Linked DNA regions of Homo sapiens: region 2 is linked to region 1. The links are contacts of gene promoters, found by promoter capture Hi-C in human tissues and cell types (Jung and others, 2019). All regions are on one chromosome and are shown on one strand. Each heading gives the region's core, a stretch centred on a gene start or on the middle of the fragment in contact. The rest is flanking DNA. Distances are from core to core; before and after follow the strand shown. Region 1 holds the start of P2RY12 (purinergic receptor P2Y12). Region 2 overlaps MBNL1 (muscleblind like splicing regulator 1).

Region 1 (6,799 bases), core at 1,889-4,388:
GATGTTACCTCCTTCGGGAGGCCTTTGATCACCTCTAAAAATAGGACCACAGCCATTCTGTATGCCATTGCCATGCCTCAAACCACTTGTTACACTTAGTTTTATTTGTCCCACTACTATTATTTGAGCTCCATGAGAGCTTGTTGTTTAGTTAACTACCTTGCCCCCTTAAGCCAGCCTTAGGGAGGGGTTCATTTCTTCTGATGAGATTTGGGAAGTGCTTTCCTCTCACCTTGCAGGGTACTTACAGGTCATCTGTTGGGATGGAGTACTTCTGCATGTGACTCATTTGAACTCTTTTAAGATGACTCTCATTAATGACCATATTTCAGAGCATGATAGGGTTTTTGTTAGTGGTTTTTTGTTTTTGTTTTGAATTGCACTTTTTTTTTGCTCATCTCATCTGATTTTAGGGTGTTGCCCACTTGTGGCTCCCTTTCCTAAGCAAATTTTTCCTTTTCCAGCATTAGTGTGAGTCAGTGAGGAAGTGAAGAAGCAGCCCACTTTATAAACTGATAAAGCCACTTGGCTGATGTCTGCAATGCCATATTTTTCAAAGTACCGTGCGTTCTCTTTATCAAGGAAGACACATACATAAGATAGCAGACCTTCTCTTCTATAAAACATCAAAATAATACATTTGCTAGGGTTCAGCAAGTCCCTAGAAATATAACAGGACTGAGGCAAAATGTAATTCTCTCTCTCCAGTGTTTTTCTTCGTAAGATCAATGAGGTAATGTATTTTAAAAGTTTTTATTAATGCTTAATTTGATGGCCCTCTCAAGCATTTTCCCAGACTTAATCATAGGCTAGCTATATAATTATATAAGATTTTCTTCCTCCACCTAGAACGGCAAATGCACAAATAAATAGCCAGATTTCTTTCTGCATGGAGGAAGAAGAAAGCTAAAATTTTATTTAGCTTTGTTTGTTAATTTGTTAAAGATAAGAAGTGGTTTTTTGCTATCAGTATAAAGCTCAATTTATCTTTAAATGAGAGAAAAATTAAACTTTAATGGGGAGTTTTTTTCCGGATCTTAGATTTTAAGTAACTGGAGAGAAGAACGATACCAAGATGACATAAAAGCGCGGCAGATGATGCACGAAGCATTGCAACTCCGCCTAAATTTGGTAAGTGACATTTCTAGTATTTTCCCTCCATTAAACATATTTACATGTGAAAATACCTCCAGCTTTCCACTTCTCCTAAGTGCAAAGTCTGCATTACAAGGTGAGGCCTTCCACTCTTTGCTCTCTGTAATTACTTCCCTGTTTCTAAAGCCTTCTGTTTCCCTTGCTGCTTTCCTTCCTGTCTGGTCAGACATCTAGACAGTGCTAGGTATTTTAAGCATAGATTTGCCTTCTCTACCTCTACCCCAGTGAATCTCTCCTTCTCTTCAGTTTGTGCTAAGAATAAATCTGAGAAGACTGTTATAAGTGTTAGCTTCTACTATACTTACTTAAAACCATTTAAAAAGTCTTTTAACTCAAAGTTTTGTCCAACTTTCCATCAAATTGATTATAAAGACAAATCCCACAGAGAAGTTTTATAGAAATTTAAAATGTCTCACATATTGTGCATTCCTTGAGTTTTCTTTTCCCATCAGGCAGGCCCAAGTGCAGGCCCCTCTGGAGGATGGCCTGCCTGATACTTTTGCAGTTGTTTCTAACCTTGTCCCAACACGTGAACTGGTAGGTGTGCGGGCCAAGCCTCCTGCCCACCACTGCTGTGATAGTGGATGTTTCCATATGGTATTATGATAGCAGGCTTAGATTCAATAGTAATTGTACAGCAAACACAAAGATGCAGATAATTGGATTACATGACTTTGACATTATTCAGGTTTAATTCAACTATAATTGCATCATAAAACTGGACATCATAAAAGATTTGGAACAAAAGAAAGCTAAGTTTATTGGTGCCCACATTCAGATACTCACGTCCCTTCTTCATTTTAGTTAATGTTTGAATGACTGAACTGTGCTGAAAGAACTAAAAATAGTGATAAACATGTAGGTAAAAGAGAAAAGATAAGGTAATCTATAAACTAGAGCATCCCTTGTTTTTTTAAATAAAAAACAATCAAAATTTGATAACATAAAGCAATGGGGTGTTCTTTCTGTTTTACAGAATGCAAATATCTTACTGTATTTTGTCTGCTAGGTAGGAGGAATGTTTGACACGGTGCAGAGGAGCACCCAGTGGACTACAGACTGGGCCCTGCTACTCCTTCAGATCATTACTTCAGGAACTGTTGACATGCACACTAACAAGTATGTTTTTATCACTTCACATTGATTTTGCTACATGTATGCATGGTATAAGCTTTGATATACTGATGGCGATTTCTGCCACATCTTATTTACTTGGATGCTATTAAAAATTCTGTGCCTTGAATAAAAATACTCAGTTAAATAAGTGTATTTCAGTTTCACTTTAAGATGAAAATAATTATTTTCTTTCTTAGTGAATTATTCACAACAGTTCTTGACATGCTGGGTGTTTTAATCAATGGAACGTTAGCCTCTGACCTATCAAATGCATCCCCTGGGGGATCTGAAGAGAACAAGCGTGCATACATGAATTTAGTAAAGAAACTGAAAGTAAGTTTGAGATCAGCCTGTATTATGAGCTCAAGTTGTTTATGGATTTATTATCTAGTGCATTTTAATTTATTACTCATTAAATGTTATTAATTGTATTCAACTTAATTTAATGTGATTATTTGCTATTTGTTTCACCTAACCTTATTAGTACCCAGAAGTTACATGCACATAACCTTGATTATTTTTTATTGAAAACAATTACATTATAAAACATGTTTAATTTTTTAAAGAACTTTAGAAATCCACTGTTAAATATATAACCAGAATACTAACATTAGATAGATTTAGGATAACTCTATGCTTGGACTGGCACGTGTAATTGAAAAAATAGCCATCTGCATTGAAATTTATAAATCGATTCATTTGACCGACCACTAACAGACTCCTTTAAAAAAAAATTGTAAGAAAACAGTGCAAAAAAGAAACCAAATAAATCTGATGCATTACCAATCAAATAAATCAATGGTTACCTTGTAATCTGACCCTGGACATGAGAAAGTGTTCTGTTCTGCAGCTCCTGTCTTCTGATTGTGATCACTACCCTGGATTTTTGTCATTTCAGCACTATGATGTTTGTTGTGTAACAACAGTGCCTTTGTATGTGTTCTATTTTCTACTTAAATAGAAGAAATGAAACACTCATTGCTCTATTTGGAACTGCCTTGTAGAACATGTTCAGGGTTAAAGAACATGCGCTAAGCTATAAAAAGGGAAATGTTTCATAGGGGAACTTCCTTCTGGTTAACTTTTGCCTTCATTGTAATTTCTGTCCCACTTCTCACTCTCTCTCTCTCTCTTTTTTCTTTAGAAAGAGCTAGGAGACAAGCGATCAGAAAGTATTGACAAAGTTCGACAGTTACTACCTTTGCCGAAACAGACATGTGATGTCATCACTTGTGAACCTATGGGTTCCTTGATTGACACAAAAGGAAACAAAATTGCTGGATTTGACTCTATAGATAAAAAACAGGCAAGAGTGAATGTTTTTTCTTATATATAAATTTATTTACAAAAGATGAAATACTTTTTTTTGTCTTACCATAGGATATATAAAATATATTAATTTTGCTGTTGATGTTTTTAAGGCATATGCTTGTCTTCTAAGTGTACTTAGTCATTGGCATTATCATATAAAGAGGTCATATCTTTGAAGATCTACGTTTTATATGTTTAAAGGACTTAAAATGTTTCCCTGAATTTAAGTAAATTTTTGGAAACCTACCAAGAGAAAACTAAGTAAAAGCTTAGTGTAAAAAAAAAATTGCATAAATAAGTTCTGATTATACTTCAGATTTAGAAGCAGAATATATTTATCAATGAAAAATTTCTTGTAAGCTGAGCATGGTGGCACATGTCTTTAGTTCCAGCTACTTGGGAGGCTGAGGCAGGAGGATTGCTTGAAGCCAGGAGTTTAAGGCTGCAATGTGCTAGGCTCATGCCTGTGAATAGCCACTACACCCTAGCCTGGGCAACAAAGTGAGACCCTGTCTCTGGGGGGGGAAAAAAAAAAAAAAACCTTCCTGTAGTAAGCTATTTCAAATAAAAATTATTTTAATTGTTAGGATATTCTCTATTCCTATCAAGCAGTATTTAATGGACATTTGTTTTATATAAGATATTAAAGATGGTTCTCTAAAATATGAGAAAATTGGTCAGTTACTCTTTTAATGAACAGTAAGCAACCACCGACATTCCACAATCACCAAGATGAAAGACAGAGTTCCTACCCTCAAGGGGGAAGTAGACAGACAATTACAGTGTAATGAGATTTGTGTGACATGGTACAGAGAGAGTATTAGGGGATAGAATAGAGGGTCCCCAGGAAAATTGACACGAGTCATTTTGAAGGATTAAGAGTTAGCTGGGAGGTAGGGAAAATTGTGGTACAAATAAAGGGAGAGTTTATATGAAGACATGAAAGAATCAGATTTACCAGGGAATTTAGAGTAGCCTGAGAATCTAATACCAGTTTGTGTAAAGAAAAAAAGCTAAAGTCATGGTCAAGTTTGAGTTTGCAGTGTCAGCGGACTTCCTGGTAGTAAGACATCTGGAATCCATTTGGATGTGTGGTTTTTACACCAAGGAAAAAGTTCTCATCTCAAGACAAATATTAGGAAACAGTCAATTTACAGGTGGCAATTGAACCTTGGTTTTATTTTGTTTTACTTTGTTTATTTATATTTTTTGAGATGGAATCTCGCTCTGTCGCCCAGGCTGGAGTGCAGTAGTGCGATCTTTGCTCACTGCAACCTCTGTCTCTCGGGTTCAAACGATTCTCCTGTCTCAGCCTCCTGAGTACCTGGGATTACAGACATGCACCACCAGGCCCAGCTAATTTTTTTTTGTTTTTGTCTTTGTTTTTTTTTTTTTTTCAAGACAGAGTCTTGCTCTGTCACCCAGGCTGGAGTGCAGTGGCGTGATCTCGGCTCACTGCAACCTCCACCTCCCGGGTTCAAGCAATTCTCTGCCTCAGCCTCCTGAGTAGCTGAGATTACAGGTGCCTGCCATCATGCCTGGCTAATTTTTGTATTTTTAGTGGAGACGGAGTTTCACCATCTTGGCCAGGCTGGTCTTGAACTCCTGACCTCGTGATCCACCTGCCTCAGCCTCCCAAATTGCTGAGATTACAGGTGTGAGCCACCACACCTAGCCTTTTTTTGTATTCTTAGTAGAGACGGGGTTTCACCATGTTGGCCAGGCTGGTCTCAAAGTCCTTACCTCAGGTGATCCCACCCGCCTCAGCCTCACCAAGTGTTGGGATTACAGACACGAGCCACTGTGCCTGGCCTGAACCTTAGTTTTAGATGAAGCTACTCATAAAAGAATGCATATAGATAACAACAGTAACACTTACATCTTAGGGAATGACTGAGTAGTTATTTGGGGGCCATTTAAGGAAAAATATTTTTAAATTGACATTTTAAGGCAAGTGCCAAGAGATGTCACCAATTAATGTTAAGAATAAAAAGAGGGTAACCGTTTTTTTTTTTCTAGAGTCAGTAAATATAAGCTTGAGTTGAAAGACTTTACTTATTCCTGCTGCTACAATTTAATTCTCTAATAATAATATTATATTCAGAGTATGGCTTATTAAGTACAGGGCCCACATATTGAACCAAGTTCATGCAGATTTGGATTGAAGTTAATACTAACCCAATTACAGGTTGACTATAACTTGACTCTTAAATTTGATATTATCTTCAAAATTATAAATAGATTACAGAGATTTAGAACTGGTTATAATTTAGTAAGATTAACTTTGCAGTGTTAGAATTTTTAGCAACAAATTTTTAGAATTTTTTTAGCAAAAAGAGGAAATACACATTAACAATAAAATATGCTAGACTGCCTCTGTTGCCTAAACAGAGCATCATGTGGTTAAAGAACTGTAGAACCGGGCTTACAAAGGTCTGAATTCTAGCCACTGCTCTCCGGTGATGTAGCTGTGTAACCCTCTCTGCTGTATTCTCGGGTTCTCTAGGGCTCATGCCAGCCAAAGTGTTCTCTGACTCCATGTCCCATACAAGCCTGGCCTATGAATAAGGAAAAGATCTGAGTGTGCTATCTTAGAGCGCTATTTTCCCACAGGGTCTCCAGGTCTCTACGAAGCAGAAGGTGTCCCCGTGGGACTTGTTTGAGGGTCAGAAGAACCCAGCTCCTTTGTCCTGGGCCTGGTTTGGGACAGTCCGAGTGGACCGAAGAGTGATCAAGTACGAGGAGCAGCATCACCTCCTGCTGTATCACACACACCCCATGCCCAAGCCCCGCAGTTACTACCTCCAGCCACTGCCCCTGCCTCCTGAGGAGGAAGAGGAAGAGCCCACATCTCCAGTTTCTCAGGAACCAGAAAGGAAGTCCGCTGAGCTGTCAGATCAGGGAAAAACCACAACAGATGAAGAAAAGAAAACAAAAGGAAGGAAGCGCAAGACGAAATCTAGCTCAAGAGTTGATGTAAGTGGGGAAAGGAAGGAGAACCTTGGCTCATTAGCATTTAGTATGAGATTTACTCGTGCCCAAATCATATCCCTCGAAACATTACCAAGAGCAGGATAAGTTTTGTTATGACAGTTCTCCTAACAGGTTTCTGCATTAACTGAATGGCACACAATGACTTGTCACAGACAAAAGATTAAAGCTTTTGATTTTCCGTCCTCCACTTTTAATAATTTTATTTTAATTGTAGGCTTCCATT
Region 2 (6,799 bases), core at 1,289-3,788, 1.0 Mb after region 1:
TCTCAAAAACAAAACAAAACAAAAAAAACTGAAGACATATTTATATTTATATTTCGCATTAACCTAGCAGCCCAATTTAATGTATCTTGAAGTGAAATCTCTAAATGATTTAGAGTAGTAGCTCCAATATAAAAGTCTGTATATGTGAACTTTAGATACCGATGAATTTCTGTTTTTAGACTTTTAAAATGTAATGTCATTGTATAGATTTTATGATGCCAGAAACATTGAATGTCTATACAAATCTCCTTTCGTACCTGGTGAAACTTACAAACCTGCTTCTGTTTCCTTTTTTTCTTTTATGTGGCTAGCTTTATCATGTATTTAAATGACTGACCTCTTAATGAAAGCATCATTAGGTCAGTACAACTCAGAACCAAGATTTGGTATCATATTTAGTTTTTTCTATTATCTCCATTGTCTCTAGAATAGAGTTAGAGTAGAATTCATCTTGAGGCATTTAGTAAGAAATGAACATTCATTCATTCTGTGAATGTTTATTGAGGTGTGATGCTACTAAGGGCTCAGAGATGGATGAAGCTGGCAACATACCAACATAGTATTTACCTTAACTCTCAAAGGAAGGTATGTTCCTGGTGGTTTTAGGCAATTCTAATGGAGGATGTATATTCTAACTTATTTTTGACCTTTTTCCTTTGTCAAACTATAATCATTCAGCAGCAGAATCAGTATTAAACATGTTTTAAACTTCCTAAGAAGCAAAGTGTATCTAATATCATTTGCAGACATTATTCTCTTATTTTTTCCACACATGTCAAATGAAAATTTATCTGGCTTTGCACAATTGTATTTTGTAGTGTTTTCTGCTATATCAGAATCACCTGGAATGCTTGTTAAAATGTTAATTTCTGGGCCCTCAAACCTGTGGTCACAGCTCTCTGTGGGAGAGTCTTGGTAGTCTGTATACGTTCTCACCAAATATCAGTTGATTCTTAGGAACACAGCTTTTTGAAAATGAAGGGCTCAACACAGTCAAATCAAGCTGAGCATAGAAAGGTACCATAGATAAAAAATGTAGGAGAACAGCATTTTTCCTGAGTAGATGTCATATATTCAGAATGAAAATCAAAAGTCTGAGCGTCTTGTAAAAGTTTTGAGATGCACTGATGCAGAATATACGTATACCAAACACACGTGATTTCTCTCTGTTATTTCAGTCCAGGCTATGTTCATTGGCAGGATGGTCTGGGTGGTGTGTATTCAAGGAAGGTACTGGAATGAAGTGCTTAGGAAGACCACAGTTAGTGTTGGAAGGTCTGGTTCATGGCCCAGGGCTATCTATCTACTATTTACAGAACTATAGAAACCGATGTGAGTGAATTGATGGGAAGTGAATTCTCGTGGTGACCATAACCCCTCTCACCTGCATTTAAAGAAATCCAGTTTTAGTAAGAACTATGATGCGGAGATACTGAGAACAAGAATTTCTGTTGCAGCCAAATTATTCTTTGTATTGAAAAAGCAGGCTTTTTCTAGGAGACTTCAACTAAATATCCCTGAAATTAGACCATATGCTATCCAGGAATTTATTTATTTTTGCCAGTCCTACTCTGTGGTTTATCTTGCGAGTCTAAGGTTGTTTTTGGTTGTTTTGTATCAAGACACTTTTAAGCTAATAACATGCTCATGATCCCAACCTACATCAAGCATGGTGATTTTATATGGAATAAGTTTAATATATATGTTACTTCGTGAGCATACCAATAGCCATAACTAAAAGATGTTTAAAAAATCATCTTCATACCAATGTTTTGTTTTTCTTTTGTTTGATACACAAATTAAATTGTGGTGGCAGTGATACACGTTTTCTAATAATTCAGTACTAGATAGAGAGCCTGAGGCTTACAGAAGTTAGCTCCTTATGCAGTTCATGCATTTGATGAGTAAGAGAGCTAGGCCTCTGTCCCAGCTCATGAGACCTGTAAGGTCTCTGCTATCCACTGTCCCCTGCTGCCTACTGATTTCAAGTATTACATGAAGCTTGTAAAAATAACAAGCAGTATCCTATGATTCTAGCCTAGTGTAGAGACATTCCTAAAAACCTCATACAAAAGGAGCCAAAACCGATCATTTAAATTAGAATTATGACAGATTTTATCATAAGTATAAGCATCAGAGTCAATTTATAGCATAAAGTTCAATTATACTAAATTGGTGTTTTTAGAATGTGAATGATGGCTTCAATTAATCTTTCTTTTATTCTACTGCTTGTAAACAGTTTTAATTAGATTTATTGGTGAAAGAAGTTGTCAAGGTGGTTGATGAGATCTGCTACTATTGATATGATTTGAAAATATGTTGAAATAATATGGGTAGAGTGCCTCACACCATATTACATATTATAGGCTTTAATGAATATTTTATTAAAAAGAATTATCCAAAAGGAAGGTATATTTGTACTTATGATTTTATAGTAACTTCTTTTTTTTGAGATGAGCTCTCACTATGTTGCCCAGGCTGGTCTCAAACTCGTGTGCTCAGGAGATCTCTTGCCTCAGCCTCCCAAAGTGCTAAGATTACTAAACATGTATGATTTATCTCCATTATTTCAGTCCAGGCTATGTTCGTTGGTAGGATGGTCTGGATGGTATATATTCAAGGAAGGTACTAGAATGAAGTGCTTAGGACAGAGTACAGAGGTAGTGCACCGCCATTCCTGGCTTATAGCAACTTAGTTTCTCCATTTTTTAAATTTTTTGGAGGGTAAATATATCCATTTCTTATTGTTTCATAGATTTTGTAAAATGGAGAAGACTAGATTTATCTTTGAAAAGTTAAAGGCCACATTTTTCACCAGTATTTCATTATACTTATTAATCTCTATATACAGTGGGAACACATGGGAGTTTTCTTCTTTTCAATTGTAAATTCCTAATACATGGACTGGTAAAGCCTAGTAGTAATTTTAATTTTATTTGTTATTAGATACTTATAAAGGTGTTTTACTGAAGATACAATGTGCCTTGAGTCCTCTAAGTTCATTTCCTAAGATTTCAGTACAAGTAAAAATAAAATATAAAACTTGGATTCTTAAATCATTAAATTTAACCAGGAAGATATTATGACAGAAGCCTGATATTCTTTGTTTGATATTCTATGTTTTAGTATTACCCTAGCAGTTTGTAGATTTTTAAACTTGAATCTGGAAATGTTAATGCTAATATTATTAAAATAATTGAAACTCTTTAAGCTTTTAAACTTCTTTAAATGTCTCAACCTCTCATATTGATAGTACATTCTGGTGAATTCATTACTTGTTCTAAATGTATGATCAAATGATATGGACAATGCATTGTGTGAAAAACCAATGATACATTCAAGTGGGTGGTTTGCATTATATTTTTTTCATAATTTGCTGATTTTATTCTTTTCTAAGATGATGTTTGCTGCTTTTGTTTCTCTAGGGCCGTTGCTCCAGGGAGAACTGCAAATATCTTCATCCACCCCCACATTTAAAAACGCAGTTGGAGATAAATGGACGCAATAACTTGATTCAGCAGAAGAACATGGCCATGTTGGCCCAGCAAATGCAACTAGCCAATGCCATGATGCCTGGTGCCCCATTACAACCCGTGGTAAGCATGTTTTCAGTCTTCACTCATTAAGTTTTTGATTCAAAGTGCTCAGTTGTAGTACTAAAGTGATTATTGCACCGGATCAAATGAACACAGGCAACAATTTCAGTTGCCTTACCATTTTCTAGCAAAATTAAGTATCAGTCAAATGCTGGAACAATTTATACTTTGTGTAGGCACTCATTTTCTGGCTAAATCATGTGGACATTTACATTATAGCATTTTTTTTCCTCTAAATTTTTCTTCAAAATAAATCCCAAGACTGGCAGATGTTAAAATGCTCTGTGTTACAATGATCATCTAACTCACCGGTATAGTCAATATACATTTTCAGCCACCTTCAGAGGTAATAATGATATTTAAAATTGGTATGTATAGTCTTTAATTTTGAGAATAGTTCTCCCTTTCCTCCCTCCTTGAAAAGAATGTGTATAGTTCTTTTTCTTGAAAAGGTACCTTTCTTGTTCTTCTATAATTTAAGTTGAAATTATTTCATAGCTACAAATGCTAGGAAAATTCTGACAGTAGTAAATCAATATCATAGACTTGGAGGTCTCATTAAAGAAGAATTAATCAGGGTAGGCTGAAACTCTGAGGGCTTAAAGAGCTAAAGTTGAAAAACTGGGTGGTCATAGATATTTAGTATTTGCTGAGCAGTATATGTGGGTGACTCTTGCTTTGAAACACACATTTCTATTTAACTGTTTGGATTTCTGGAGTATGTGTGTAATAAATGACTTTAATAATCTCTATTCATATTTATTCATCAAAATGTGAAAGATTATTATAAGAATTAGTGTTAGGTTGAAAAAGGTGCTTTGACGTTAATTGTGATATAGTAATTCTACATTTAAATTCAAATGCATGTTGAAATTTGCAATTATCAGAATATATCTGTCAGTAATTTATGTCACTAGCTTATATGCAGTATCGTGGGGTCATGGGAATGTGAAGACCCATGTTTTTCTGCTATGCTAACTGTAGCATGTGTGCTGTTTTTTTTCCGAATACATTCTAAAACCTGAACTCAATGTAATTATTATTCTCTTTTAGAACTTTATGCAACAATCATTTCAAAAAAGAGTGGGGGATTGCATTTCAAGGTGGGAGGATCTCCACATTACATGGGCAGTGATACCAGTTATCAGTTCTATACAGTTGAAGTGAGAGAATATAATTAATTATGTGTCTGTTTTAACCTGATCTGGTTTTTTCCCCTATGATTGTAGGCTCAGTTAAAAATGTGATAGCTTAAAGTTATTTTTGTGACATCTACTAATTTCACATGGCTGTATTAGGATAGCATGAAGATTTCCATTTGGTTAAAAAAATTAGCTATAATAATTCTCTAACAGAACATGTAGGACAAAAGTCTCATTTGCACTTGGCTCTCACATACAGTTTCAAAGATCAGACAAGTCTTTAGGGTGGCTACCACCTTAGCTCCTCTAAGGCCTATCCTTGATGTGAAGATACTTTGTTCTACTTAAACATTTAAAGCATGCTTACCACCAGGCTGTACCCTCTCTGTGACTGGGAGCACCTTTGAGATCAGCAAGTGTGTTCCCAGATGGAAGAGAACACTGGCCACCACATTTCCTGACCTAGCCCTTGAGTCTTACTCTGAAGGCCATTCTAGGATGTCGTGTGTGCAATCCTGGGACAAACTGTAAACAATATTTATGCCCTTTGAAATACTAGTAACAAATATATTGTTCGTGAAATCACTAAATCACAGATTTCTGAAACCATGAGAACAATCATCACATTTTCTGATGCTTTTGTTAGAAAATTCTCTGCTTAGACAAAGAAATTATTTTTATTAGTTGTGAGCATATTCAGGCTTTATGTTAATTTTTCCTCATATGACTAGATTTGAATGTGGAATTACCCTTCTGCTAAAGGTATCCTGAGATCATTGTCTAAAAATATACTTTATTCAGAGTGATGACTTTGTAATAAGTACAGAAATCATTTTAATTATTCAATTTTAAGGCATTTGGGACTTTAATGACTGTAGAGAAAGCTTTAGTACAGGAAATTTGCCTTCAAAACCTCACCTGAGACTTTTTTATCCTTTTTGTAGTCAGCCCTGTTTTGATGAGGGTAATGACATGGAGATTCAGAAATGAATGGAATGGTCATAATCAGCTGCTTACTGGGAGTTTAATGTGGGCCTTACAAATAGGGATTGTAACAGGACTAGAGGAAGCCAGGTGACTAATGTGGAAAAGGGTTGCCACTCAGAGAGAATGGCCACTACTTACAGATGAGTGTTTGAAGACATGGCATTAACTTGGATCCAACCCAGGTAGTAGTCATATCAAAGAAGATAAATACTATGAGCAGTTCCATACCATCAGCAGTATTCAGAGTATCTGAGCAGTGACAAGACTTTTAGTCAAGTAGGTGACAGCATCTAACTTCTCTAGGGCCAGTTTAGCTCCCAAACCTTGGAGGAGCAGGAAGGAGAGAGGGAGACAGCAAGGTCTAAGCAAACTTGGAAGCATCTAGTATTATGCCTGGCATATAGCAGAGATCAATAATTACTTGATGAGTGAAAGAACAAATGAAGGAAGGAGTTTCCGAAACACCAGAAAAACAGGCAGAGATTCATAGTAGTTTACCTGCTCCATAGTTCAAAGGAATCATAACCAGCACCCAGAACACAAGCCCAGTTACAGAGGCTGCAACATAGAATGGGGCATAGAAGTGGACACATATCAGCAGATTATTAGCAAAGGCAGCTAGAGGCTTGATGGCTACAAGAAATATGCCACTAAGCTTGGGTTATTATGCAACCAAGTTTGGGTTCTCATTTTCTCATAAATTGTGAGTGACGAGGTCTATACATTTAATATCTTCAGAGCACAACACTGGGCTAACTTGGGGAATGCAGGGATCTGTAGGAAGGTTTCCCATTTTTATACACTTTGTGAGCTTCTATTGAAATGTACCAAGCCAAGAATCAGAAACCGGACTTAAAATTTTTGAGACAAATACAATACATTAGGGGCATTTACTGCACTTGGCACTTTTTGTATATTAAATCCTCACAAACCATCCTTTAAAGTAGTAATGTTACCCTAAATTTAGAGATAGACTGAGAAGTTCAGAAGGGTTAAGAAGTTTGCTCAGGTTACACAGCTAGTGAGTAGCAAGGCTAGGATTTTAACCACCTTGTTCTGCTTTTGGCACTCATG

Evidence for each region. Contacts are between HindIII fragments. The study calls those that stand out against the background at their distance.
Region 2: a fragment that was not itself captured here is called in contact with the fragment with the promoter of P2RY12 in region 1 in 1 of the 25 tissues and cell types used here (dorsolateral prefrontal cortex).

What each region holds. Positions count from the first base shown.
Region 1 is chr3:151,381,615-151,388,413 of GRCh38, forward strand. It overlaps P2RY12 (purinergic receptor P2Y12), which reads right to left and starts at 3,139. Exons shown (of 3, transcript NM_022788.5): 1 at 3,078-3,139. It overlaps MED12L (mediator complex subunit 12L), which reads left to right. Exons shown (of 45, transcript NM_001393769.1): 33 at 1,042-1,131; 34 at 2,165-2,274; 35 at 2,469-2,604; 36 at 3,416-3,577; 37 at 6,196-6,558. The HindIII fragment of the contact is 3,937 bases long and covers 797-4,733 here.
Region 2 is chr3:152,411,516-152,418,314 of GRCh38, forward strand. It overlaps MBNL1 (muscleblind like splicing regulator 1), which reads left to right. Exons shown (of 10, transcript NM_021038.5): 3 at 3,426-3,596. Among named protein-coding and RNA genes, the nearest start is that of MBNL1-AS1, 150 kb to the left of the region's middle. The HindIII fragment of the contact is 3,755 bases long and covers 662-4,416 here.